Regions from separate parts of the Homo sapiens genome. Here all the other regions are linked to region 3. The links are contacts of gene promoters, found by promoter capture Hi-C in human tissues and cell types (Jung and others, 2019). All regions are on one chromosome and are shown on one strand. The core of a region is centred on a gene start or on the middle of the fragment in contact, and the rest is flanking DNA. Distances in the headings are between cores, read along the strand shown.

The links. Contacts are between HindIII fragments. The study calls those that stand out against the background at their distance.
Region 1: a fragment that was not itself captured here is called in contact with the fragment with the promoter of C16orf95 in region 3 in 2 of the 25 tissues and cell types used here (bladder and thymus).
Region 2: a contact is called between a fragment that was not itself captured here and the fragment with the promoter of C16orf95 in region 3, in 2 of the 25 tissues and cell types used here (lymphoblastoid cells and thymus).

Annotation. Positions count from the first base shown.
Region 1 is chr16:87,056,366-87,060,531 of GRCh38, forward strand. It overlaps LINC02181 (long intergenic non-protein coding RNA 2181), which reads left to right and starts at 1,419. Exons shown (of 3, transcript NR_126008.1): 1 at 1,419-4,134. The HindIII fragment of the contact is 4,704 bases long and covers 1-4,166 here.
Region 2 is chr16:86,944,941-86,949,329 of GRCh38, forward strand. No RefSeq gene overlaps it. Among named protein-coding and RNA genes, the nearest start is that of LINC02181, 110 kb to the right of the region's middle. The HindIII fragment of the contact is 5,951 bases long and covers 1-4,389 here.
Region 3 is chr16:87,315,737-87,319,658 of GRCh38, forward strand. C16orf95 (chromosome 16 open reading frame 95) reads right to left here and starts at 1,656. Exons shown (of 7, transcript NM_001195124.3): 1 at 1,355-1,656; 2 at 36-87. The coding sequence starts at 1,506. C16orf95-DT (C16orf95 divergent transcript) reads left to right here and starts at 1,773. Exons shown (of 2, transcript NR_135180.1): 1 at 1,773-1,986; 2 at 2,121-2,307. RefSeq lists an enhancer at 1,234-1,683. The HindIII fragment of the contact is 14,678 bases long and covers 1-3,922 here.

The sequences.
Region 1 (4,166 bases), core at 789-3,288, 260 kb before region 3:
ACTGAGAAAGGGGCGCATTGTCCCACTGCCTTGTTGGTGCCTCCTGACAGGGAGGCATGAGGGCTGTGGCCGCCACGGCAGATACTGGCCTTGGCATCCACAGCCCTCATGCTGTCTCTGCAGGCCGGGCGCCATGTGACCACACTCCTCTCTCAGACCCCACAAGAGCCCCGTGGGGGGCCGTGTGCTGCCCACTCTCATGATGAGGAAGCCACGACCTGAGAGAAACTTAGCGTCTTGCCCCCGATGCTGCGATGCTTGGGGATGGGTGTAAACACAGGCGGCTGCCGGCACATCTGGGCTCTCCTTGTGACCTGTCAGGCCCGCCCGCTGCAATAGAGCCTCCTCTGTCCCCTCGGGGCTTAGAGAGGTGAGGCAAACGCTTTCAGCCAGAGGCAGTGAGAAGGGTTCCCTCCACGGCCAGCAGTCTGAGCTCAGATAACTGACTTGCAAAAAATCCCTGACCAACCGGGAGCCTGAGAGGTGTGGGCCGGGTAGGGCGGGAGGAGGGGGAGGAAGCCCTGGGTACCCCAGGGCGCAACATGGCAGGGCCACACTGGAGGATGAGATCAGGCCTCCCAGGCCTCCCAGGCCCCCACCTGCGATGACTCCCCCGCATCGCCCATCGCGGCTGGGATTCTGGAGCCAGGCAGGGGTTCTGTGGTCTGAGTCCCTCTGCCTGTGTGACTCTGGGAAAATCACCAGACCTTCCTGAGCCTGGATTTCCTTCCGTGTGGAAAGATAATCATCAACGACCCGCGCCTATTTCAAGGAGACTCTTGGCCCAAAAATCCCGATTCCTCTAATTCCTCCTGATTTTTCTAAGTCGTGAACACATTAATTTATTGTCTTTCTAATGAGGCAGTGAGTGAAATATTCCGAATATTAAACAAGAAATACCTTTTCGGAAGGGTTTTTGTGAAGCCCTTTAATGGAGGGAGCATGGAGCCACCGTCAGACCTGATCTTCACGGATTTCGGGGCCCTCTGCTGGTTGCCTACACATCCACCCCCTCCCTAAACCTTCCTCGTTGACACGATTCTCGTTTCATTTGGCTTCAAAATGAGTTCCAACAACAACAAAATGCAATTTCCCAGACTCCTTTGCAGCGGAGAGTGGTCACATGACCCCATTCAGCCCAATGAGACGGGAGCCAGCGGGCCCAGAGAGGGCGTCCCTTCCAGGGACACTGCATTTCGGATTTGTGCTTTATCCTCCTCCTAGACGGGCTGAGAGTCCACAGGTGCGGCATTCACCTTGTCTCCTGAGGCCACAGGCATGGCGGCCAGGAGAGGAGGAGGGGGCTTCCCGCCCCGCATGGCCGCAGGCCGTCTCCATGGCAACAACCTCCCAGGCCCAGGGGTTCCGCAGCCTCCGCCAATCTGAGATGATTGACAGCAATGCCATCCAATTACAACATTTCCTCTCTCCTTGGGGACACCGAAAAGCAGACCACCCGGGCATACTAAGGTCAAGATGTCGTTGATCGGTTTCTTTGTTTTATTGTATTACTTGTTTTATTTACCTATTTACTTTCTTGGTAAAACCAGCCTGCCGGCTTGCTCAGGACATGAACTATGACGTCCCTGGAGATGGTCTCTTGGGAGAGGAGCCCCCCAGGCCAGCGAATCCCGCTCACCTGGGGATTAACGAGCAGGCCCGGCCATTTCCCAGGGCCACCGGTGCTCCCTGATCTCAGTGTCTCCGTCTGTAAAATGGGTATAACCAGAGCCAGCCTGTGTGGCCCTGGGGAAAGCGGCACTGAGGACAGACCAGGTGTCCAGCAGGGTCCTGCCCCGACTCCCACGCCCCCCTCGCCGGCCCCCTCGCCGCGGTCTTGCACCCTCCACTCCCCGTGCCTGCAAAGCCTCTGCCCCGTCCCTACACCAGGCTAATCCTTTGCACCTCAGCTCAGAGGCCCCGTCTCCAAAGCCTTCCCTGAAACTTCCTCCTTGAGACACCCACCATCCCCACCAAGCCTGCCACACCCAGGCCTGCTATCGCCCGTGCGGTGTCGTCCTTCTGATAAGCTGTGGAGGGGTAAGGGTCGCCCTGGTCTCTTGTTCATAGCCTTAAACCTAGAGCCACTCAAGTGCCGGGCACATAGCAGGTGCTCAATAAATACTCCTTGCTGATTGAACGGCAACCAGCTGCAAGAGTGAATGCATGGATGCCGCTCGTGGGCCTGGGTTTGGAGATCTTAGAAACAAAGCTTCCTTTTGCCACACTCATGCCTTCTTCTATCACACTCATGCCTTCTTCTACCACAATGTCACACCCTTACATCTTGTATCCGTAGGGAAATGTGGCCAGGGGCGTTTTACCAAGTTGGTCTGGGATGACGTGAGTTAACCCTCACACTCCACAGTCAGAGAGATGGGTAACCCAGGTGACCCAGCGCTAAGTGACAAATATGCTCTCGGATAGAACAGCCCAGAAAGGGCAAGAGGGAGAGTTGGAACACTCAGATAATTACCCTTCAGCGACGCAGTGCACTTAAGTGGTGAAAGGAGATTCACTGGTTGGAAAAACACTCCAGGGCGAAGGGCCAGCGTGTGCAAAAGCACCGAAGCATGACCGAGCGCGGGCATTCCCGCCAGCCACCAGTGGGCCACGCATCCCAACATGTGAGTGCCGCAAGGATACAAGTGCCTAATGTGAACCTCCAAGTGGACGATCATTCAGTACTGACTTTGGGCCTGGCCCCCTTTCCTCATGCAAGCCTTCCAGGCAGGAACTAAGAGTGAGCCATCCTCTACAGAAGAGAAAAGCAAGACACAGCAAGCTGAGAAACTTACCAGGGTCACCCAGTTGGTTGGAGTCAGAGATGTGTTACGGGCAGCAGCTCCTCTGCCCGCTTACGTCTGGGCTTTGGGGGCTGGCCCAGAGATAGTCATAATGCAGCCCTTTATTCAGCACTTGCTATGGGCCAAGTCCTTCATTCACAAGCTCAAGTCTTCCCAACCCAGAAAGAAAGATGGTTAGTTCCATTTCATGTAGGAGGAAACTGTCGAGGCTCAGAAAATTTAAGGAATTTACCGGTCATCAGTAAACGAGAGTAAAGGCCTGTGTGAACCCAAATCTGCCCTCCTCTGAAACTCTCGCTGCAGACATCGCACCCCACTGTTTTTCAATTTCATCTTCTTATTTATTCACTCAACCAATATTTATTTACCAAAGCACTATGAGGCCCAGTTAAGAATGTGTGGTCCTCGATCTGACAGCCTGGATTCAAATCCCTGTTGCCCCACAACTCTCCACACTAGCTGTGTGGCCTTGCAAATTTCACTCAACCTCTCAGGGACTCAGTTTCCTTGATTGTCAAATGGGAGTAATGACATTTCCTACCTCATTGACTTGTTGGGAGGTAGCATTGAGTTATCCCATGCCGCACCCGCTCCCTTGTAAACTCTGGATAATTACCGAGCTTTCTTATAAGTGCAGCTCATGGATCACTCAAGGCACTGGGAATATAGCAATCACAACAAAGATTCTAGTCATGGGAGATGGTCACCTAACAAATTAAAAACTAAGGCATTTGTTAAAGGACTGAATGACCAAGATTAGCGTTCCAAGGAAAAGTATGGCGCTCTGGAGTGGTCAGGAGAGCCTCTGTCACTGAGTAGCAGTGTGGCCCTGTCCAAGCTCCTGGCCTGGCTAGGCCTCATGCCCATGTCTGCATGGCAAGTGCCTGGAACCGGATGGCCATGGCAGCTTTTGCTCTGTGAAAGCCCAACTGCTCCCCTGGACTGCTCCCATGTTTTCTGTCTCCACCGAGCAAGCCTCTTTCAAAGCCCTAGAGAGAGACCTGGGTCCCCAGCACCCTCTCCTGGAGGAGATCTGGACTGAAATGTTTGGGACGCCTCCCATTCAAATGCTCAAGTCTCCAAACCGCTGGGGAGGCGTTGCACAAGAGACAGGCAGGGGTTTCAGTTTCTGGCACTTGTTTGCTCAAAGGATCTCAGCCTTCTTCTTCCTGACATGCAGCTTAAACATGTGAGCTGACCCTTAAATGAAACCCCCACAGTTTTCCATCTCCTTCCAAGAGAATTTCACGGGGTGCAGGGAGAATGGGGAGGACGTGAAACGTGGTGTATCCTGCAGGATTCACTCCCCCACTGACGGGACTAAAGGGTGAGCGTTAAACACTGGATGCCAAGTGTGTC
Region 2 (4,389 bases), core at 1,037-3,536, 370 kb before region 3:
GGGAATCTGGCCACTCCAGGTTTGCCACAAATGTTTTTGTCTGTGCCAGGAACACTGCCAGGGACTTTGCAGTCATCTCCTGTTCTGATTTTACCTTAACCCTCCCAAGAGGCAGTATCTATTGCCCACCAGTCTTATCACCATTTTAAATAGGAGAAACTGAGATTCAGGGAAGTGAAGGAGTTTGCCGGTGGTCATTCTGAGCAGCTGGAAAGAGAGACCTTGAAACCCATTTATCTGTCTGATTCCAAATCCCAGACCCTAACCGCGGTGTGGGGGCTTCCAGAAAAGCAAGCCCGAGGAAAGGGTCTGGATGCCACCCCATGGGGGCCATGTCGGGTAGGTGGTAGCCGCAGAGGAAAAGCTGAGTCACTGCACCTGAAATTCTGCTGATCGGACCCATCCGCACACTTTTAGGAAAAACAAGCCACTCTCTTTGATCAATGTCCAGGGCCATGATGGGCTCAGGTTCAAAAACAACACATCCCTAAAGTGTGGAAGCCCTTTGGGTTCTGGGAAAGTGGGAGAATGGATTTGCTCTTCCTGAAGTTTATTCAAGGTTTCCTCCTCACTGGGTTGCCCAAGCCTCCTTGGGAGAGGCAGCGTGGCAGCAGACCCCTCAACCACGCCAACACGGCAGGGCTCAGGGCAAGGACGGACGGCGCCAGCCCCGTCAGCACATGGCAGGATGCAGACCTTTCAGGAGAGACCTTGAGGAAGCACGGAGTCCAGAGGAAGGCCTCAGTTTCCCTGCAGGTGCACCCTTTGGGTGGCCACGGGCCGAGAGCTGTTCTAACCATGCGTGTGTGTTCCGCAGCTTCCAGCAGCACCAGCACTGTGAAATACCCAATCAAACAAGTCCAGCCGAGTTTAGGGCATACCCTCATTATCACAGTAAACGTCAGCATTGTATTCAGCCAAGAAAAGAACGACCTATGGGATTCTTTCTTTCCATAGTCACTTAAACTCTTCCAAATTTTTAAATACTTTCTGAAATTTTTCCTAGATCTTTTTATCACATACCTGTGCAACCAAAGTTTCACATCGATAGTGACTTCAAGATTTTGAAGAGGGACGTTCACATGTCAGCCAAGAATTGCACATAGCTATTTCCAGCATAAAACCTGACTTCCTTTAAGAAAGCTATGTTTGGGGAGGTGGTGGGTAAAAGGAGTGACTTCTAACAAGCATGGTTTTTCGGGGGCGATGATGAAAATGTTCTAAAATTGATTATTGTGATAGTTGCATAAATCTGTGAGGACACTAAAATCACTGAACTGGAAACTTTCCATGGCTGAATTCTACGGTAGATTAATTACACCTCAATAAGACTGTTATGAAAAAGAAAGTTACATTCACAGAAGTACGCTAAAGCTTCTCATTAACATTTTTGAAATGATTCATTTGGGCACTGCCTATTCAAATATAAAGTCATTTATTATTTATTTCATGTAAATGAAAATAGAATTAGCATCCTATTTTCCTGTAATTATTTTACAGAAAGGAAACAGGGACGCCCCCAAATCCTCTGCTTACCCCACCACCGTGCATACAGATATGGTTATCGTGTATGTGTCACCCTGCAGGAATGATGGGAATGTCCTGAAATAAAGTCCTTTGGTCCTCTATACAGGACAGCCAAGGAGATGGAAAGATCAGATGACACTGAAAATATTCACGGCCAGCCTGGCTGGGGCCTGGGCAGTCAGAACAAACACCCCTGGAGGCATTGGGCCCCAGCAGGTACCCTCGGGTGAGTAAGGGCTGCAGGTTAAACTGCTCAGGTTGGGGAAGCAAACTCCTCCCTCGCCTGACCCCCACCTCCCCAGACAGGCTGCTGCCTTCAGCCGCTTCCCTGTCTCTCTCCCTTTTCTGCTCCAAGGGGGGATTTTTTTTTAGCTTTTATTTTAGGCTCAGGGGTACACGAGCAGGTTTGTTATACAGGTAAATTGCCTGTCGCAGGGGTTTGGTGTGCAGACTGTTTCCCCACCCAGGTGATAAACATAGCATCCAGTAGTTTTTGGAATCTCACCCCCTCTCCCCCACACCATCAGGTGGGGGTCTGCAGCCCAGCTCAACTGCCGTGCCTGGGAAAGCTCTGCAGACCCCCTCCAGGCCTCATCATCTCCATCCTGCTGTGAGCAGCTAGGCTCCTGGCTTCTCCTGCCGCGTCCCCCAACATGCTGATGCTGCTGACGGTGTGTGCACCCTCCCGCTCCACCTGTTGGTCCAAACCAGCCCCATGTTCCCTCCTCCTGGTGTCCTTGGCCACCTCAGGATGAGGGAAGGGGCCAGGGGATTCTCTGCGTGGTCACTCGGTCACTCCGCAGACCTCGCCATCCAACACCCTCTGGCCTCCCAGAACTGCTCTGCTGGCCAGTGTGGCTAACGGGTGCTCCAAGGGCCATGCTCAGAACCACTGTCTTTGTCCTCAAGAGGATGGTGAAGGGTGAACACTTTCCCTTGAACATTTTCTTTGAAGACAACCTGTTGACGAGTTTACGGAGTGGCAAGTCCCAGCTATGGGAGGAGCTCTGGGGTCCACCAGGCCCAACCCGTCCTCTGCCTGCCACTTATGGACCCCTTCAACGAGCCAGGCACTGAGCTACCCGGCCACAGGTTTCTCTCATCTCCTCACAGCTGCCCTAGGAGAGGGTCTTGTTATCCTCATATGGGGAAACTGAGGCACAGGGGGAGAACTAGCTCACAGAACCAACTCCCGAGTGACAGAGGCAGGCTGAGAAACCTGCTGCCCGCTGCTAACCCATACTGAGCGTCCCGAGCCAGGACCCTCATCGTACACTTGCACACCCAGAGACACATCAAGCCACGGGCGTCCCCACCTGCACAAAGGTCAGTGCGTAGGGCTCAGATGGCAGAGATGGCTGCGAAGCCACAGCCCCTTCACCCACCTTCTCACCCTGCAACTGTGATGAGTTGCTGCGCTCTGTGTGTCTCAGTTTCCTCATCTGTACCCTGAAGATACTAGTACCTGCCATGCCATATCGTGTTACGAAAATAAGCTTCTGTGTGAAACATATTATGTATTTTAAAAACTTAGACTACGTGTCCAACACCATGACACGCTGCTGTGACAGCTACTGCTATTAGTGCCGCTGTTGCCTCTGCCCTGCCACTAGATAAGGTCCTTGTGGCCACGCCAGGAATGATACAGGGAAGCCCAGGAGCTCTGAAGCTCCTGCCCTTCACAGGAATTGAGCCCACTCAGCCACTCTGCTCCTGCTCCTGCTCCTGCTCCTGCTCCCACTCCCCGAGCTTCCACGGACAAATCCTGCCAGGAAAGGCTCTGCCCTGAGCACCTCCGCCCCCACCAACGCCACACATCTTCATGACGCCAGTCCTTCTAGGAGTTTCCGCATGTGCACCCAGGTGTACCTACGTACCCAGACATCTCTATCACCTGTGTGCATGCGTTATTTTCTGAGCTAAATTCCGGGACCAGCATTGGAGGGCGGTGAGCATATGCAGGTGAAAGAAGGAGGCTGGACTAGGAAATTTCCATCAGTTCCCAATGGAATCCTCTCTTTGAGCCCCCTAGGACTGACCATTCAGTGCTATCACCTGGAGGAAGAGGTGTGGAGGGAAGACGCCACCTTCTCCAGAAACACATGAGATGGACAAGCTCTCTCAGTGCTGGGTAGTTTCACGCACATTGCGTGTGTGCTGACTCAATCTCCCAAAAGGTTTACCTCAAAGGATGGAACCCAAAGACAGTTATTTCCATTTTCATCTCCATTTTACAGATGGGGAAACTGACAGCCATGGGGGAGACACTTTCCAAAGGTCAGGACAGTGCAGAGGGAGCAAAGCTGGCATGGAGAGCCCTCAGGCTGCTGCGGAGGCCCCGCGTTCAGCAGTGACATCACACTGCCTCTCTGACTTTTCTTTGCCAAAAGAAAGAATCCCAGGACCCAGAGAGGACCTTGGAGGTCCTCTAAGCAATTCCCTCCTCTCTGTTCTCAAACCACTTGGAGATGGGGAAACTGAGGCATGAGGGGCTAAGGGAAGTTTCTGAATCTACAAGGCAATCAGAGACCTTCTTTAACCAGGTACGCCTAGCTCCTGCCCTTTGAGTCAACAGCCTCTCTGATACTCTTAGAAACACAGCAGGAAGAAAAGTTCACGCAAGAAAGCAAGCCCATTTTTTCACTTTTTTGTGAGGAGAAGGATTTCATATAGGACGTCGCACAGTGAGTGCATCCACCATAGACGCACATGCATGCCCTCTCCCCGTCCAGGGAAGCAAGCAGCCAGCTCTAATGATAATACGTTTCCTGAGAACTTTCCACTCGCTCTGAAGCACTTCTAATTGTGTCTGGAGCCTTTCCTTCCTACCCCACAGGATGAGCCGGGACATGCCGCTCGCGA
Region 3 (3,922 bases), core at 406-2,905:
GTCAGGGCCAGTGGCTGAGGATTTGCTTTCCTTACCGAATGACGGGGGAGGCACACTTCTTTCTTGTAGGTTTGAAATGTGCTATTCCTAGAAGAGAAGAACAGAAAAGCTTAGGGTTTGTGTAAACTAGGGGGCAGGGATGCTAGAGCACAGGCCTGGACCTGTCTTCTCAGAACTGACTCTTAATAATAAAGCCCACGGGTGGTGGGGATGGGGGGATCCTCTGAGCCCAAGAAGAGTGAGAGGGTGACATCAGAAGCAGGCGTGTGCTAGCTCATGCGTGAATGTCTAGGGGCTCCTGGGGGCTGGCTGTCATGGAATCCTGCATTCCCAAGCCAACCAGCTTCAAGCTGACTCCAGCTACACTTGTGCTTGGAGCATCAGAAAAGACAGGAGCATTCCAACCTGCTGAGAACTTTCCAAGACATGTAGCTGCCAATCACATCACCTAGGATGATCTGTCAGACACCCTCAACTTACTGAAATACTGAAGAAAAAACATCGTCAAACTGTCCATTAATGAACCTCCTTCCACTATAAAAACCCGGGTGCTTTGTCTCTGGGATGACAAAGCACTTGGGGTTACACAGCCTGTGTGGCTCTTCCCTGTTCCACTCCCCAACAAACTGCTTGAATGTTGGCTGGATGAAGCGTCTCCAGTGGGTGCAAAGCCCTGCTTCCCTGACAGTAGTGGGTCAAAGTGCTTTGTATGTGGAAACCGTAAGAGCGATATAAGTGTTTTTGGGTTTCATTGTCATAATAACCATTATTATTATTGCTATTTTTGTGAGAGTAATAGGTTCACGCATCAACTCTCCCAGATAATGCTTGAAAACAGAGGATGGGGCACTGCCCTCCACAGCATCCGAGGCCCCTTCTGGTAATGACAGCACTGCTATATTCCTGGTGGGGAGGGGGGGGGCCACAGCCATCTCAGTCCTTGTAGTTCAGGTGGGCCAAACTCACCACTGCCCAGCCTGGAAAGCTGGGAAAAAAAAGAATCTCCTTTTTGTTGAGGTTGATAATCTGATAACATGTAAACCTCAGGAGGTCCTGGTGATCATCTTGCCTCCACAAGGGAAGCCAGCAAAAAGGAAGGAAGCTGAGAGATGGAGAGAAACCTTCCAGGACCATGGTCAATGTGTACCTGGATACATCCATGCCTGAAGGCCTACTTCTGACATTTTCAGTTATGTGGAACCATCAGTTGCGTTTTTGTTAAGCCAATGTAAGTGAGGTTCCTGTGGGTGGCGGTCAAGAGTTCTGCCTGTGCATAGGTCATGGAGCAATGCCGGGCCGGGAACTCACAGGCGAGGTGTCGGGTAGCCGCGGGCAGGATTCAGGACTCACTTGCCTGCCATCCTGCGCGCTGGGTGTGAGTGCCAACCTGCAGAGCCCGACGCACCCCGCGCCCGGCCCCCCGGCAGCAGCGCCTGAGGCTGCTCCAGTGGCCTCATGATGATGGTGACAACGCCGCGGGGACGGTGGGGACCGGCTCGCACGCATATGGCTTCTTATGGCTGACGCGCCCTTTCACACACACATCGTCCGCAGGCCCTGACGCCCTGGCTCCCGCCTTTCCCTCCTGCCCCAGGAGGAACCCAACCCGAGCTCAACCCCAGCCCCAACCTCAACCGCTCAGAGGAGCCCAACAACGCCCGCGCGCCCGCCCGTCCCGCTGACTAGCCCGCGCCCAGCCAATCAAAATTGGCCTTCTAGGTATGTGACCTTAGCTGGCAGCTGATTGGTCCCTCACGAGAGACGCGGGGTCAGCGGCTCAGAGCGCGGCTGTGTGGGGCTGCGGGGCTCCCGCCATGCCCGCTGGGGTAGGTCCTGCGGACCCCGGCCACTGGAGCCACTCATCATTTCCGACGGATGGGCCGGAGGGGCCGCCGGCCGCCCCAGCCAGGGTCTCGGTAGCCTGCAAGGAGAGAAAGAGGTGGGAGCAGCCCGCGCGGGGCCCTGCGTCTTGCATAGGCGCTTCTGGTAAAATCACTCCTTTATCTCAGATAATGAGTTGGCGCTGGATCGCTGCGTCCTCAGGTGGGGCTCGAATCGTGACTTTTAGAGAAATAGGTTTTCTTTCTTTTTTTTTTTTTTTAACAACATGGGGTTTAAAGGGCGCGGAATTGGAAGCAGTCGTCACCCGGAGGCCTGGGCGTGCAAGCACCGAAGCTCTGGCTGGCCCTGAGCCTCCCCACCCCACCCGCTCTTTTCGCTGGAACGCGTGTACTTTGGGCAGTTGCTGACGTGGAGACAGGACGTATGTCTTCATATTTTAGTAAAACCCAATGCCCTCTGCCTCTCTGATTATGTTCTTTAAGTTATCGCCAGTTCCAATTTGTATTTCTTGGAAACGGTTGGGTCTTCCCTCACTTTTCAGTATTTTCATGTAGACTCAAATACTCTGGATTAATATTTGTATTTGCCCAAACCATCACGAGCACCTCTTACCCTGATGGGCAATACTTCAGTGTGCTGCGTTCTGGCCACAGAGCAAACAGGGTGCTCCCAGGCACTGCCCTCTCGGATTTCTTGCCTTGTTATTTAATCATTAAGATCGTGACCTATGAGCAGGACTGTTTCCAGCCAGCACATACACATGTCCTCTCCTGGCCAGCATCCATGCTGATTAGACGGTGCCCCTGCCATACTAGCTGCCTAATATTTCAGATACCCCACCCCGTGTGTGTGTGTAAATCATGTCACTGCCCTCTTTGTAGCTAATGACAAAATTCCAAGAGTCACCATTAGCCTAGCACATTATGCCTGTCTCATTTCTGCCCACTTTGGAGCACTCGGCTTCTCTGCTGTTTTCCTCCAGAGCACACTGAAACACTGCCATAGCACAGCAGGGCATAGAAGACAGGCTCATGCTCCCCTGGACGCTCAGGCCTTCACCTCGGGCACACTAGGTCTTGTCATTCCATGTCAAGAATAGCTCTTCACTGCCCTCACCCACCCAAGAATGGCTAAAATTAAAAGGACTGACAATACCTAGTTTGTCGAGGATGTCACAGCTGGAACCCTCATACATGGCTCATGAAATTGATAAAACCACATTGGCAAACTGGTAGTATTTACAAAACCTAAACATATGAATACCTGATGACCAACTAATTCCTCAACTCACCCAAGAGAAATGAGAGCTTATGTGTACCAGAAGACATGAACAAAACTACCCACAGCAGCTTTCTTCCTGATGGCCCCAAACTGGAAATGATCCAGATGTCCATCCATAGGAAAAAAAGATTTTAAAAAGAAAGTATGGCATGTTCACAGAGAGGAAATTCTGTACAACAATGGAAATGGGCACACAACCACAACCCACAACAATGTGGATGAAGTGTACAATGAAGTCAGACCCCAGAATGTACAGACAATTCCATGTGTGTGATGTTCAAAACCAGGAAAGCAAATCCATCATGACACAGGCTGGGGATGTGAAGGAAACTCCAGCCACCCTGCCCCTGTGCTCTGAGTAACAAGGCCTAGATCCCAATCCTTGCTCTGCCTCTTATCAGAGACAGGTATCAGACAAGTTGCCTAACTTTTCTGAGCTTCAGTTTTATGTCTAAAATAATGATAACCATAGAACCAATCCCAAGGAAGTTTCAGAAGATCAAATATGAAAGAGCATGAAAGGTGCTCAAAAACCAGGGACTGTCATGGTAGCTCACATCTGTAATCCCAGCACTTTGGGAGGCCAAGGTGGGAAGATCTCTTGAGCCCAGGAGTTTGAGACCAGCCTTGGCAACGTAGTGAGACCTCATCTCTGCAAAAAATTTAAAAATTAGGCATGGTGGCACATGCCTGTGGTCCCAGCTACTTGGGAGTTTGAGGTGGGAGGATCACTTAAGCCCAGGGGGTTGAGGATGTAATGAGCCATGATTCCATCCAGCCCGGGTGACAGGGCCAGACC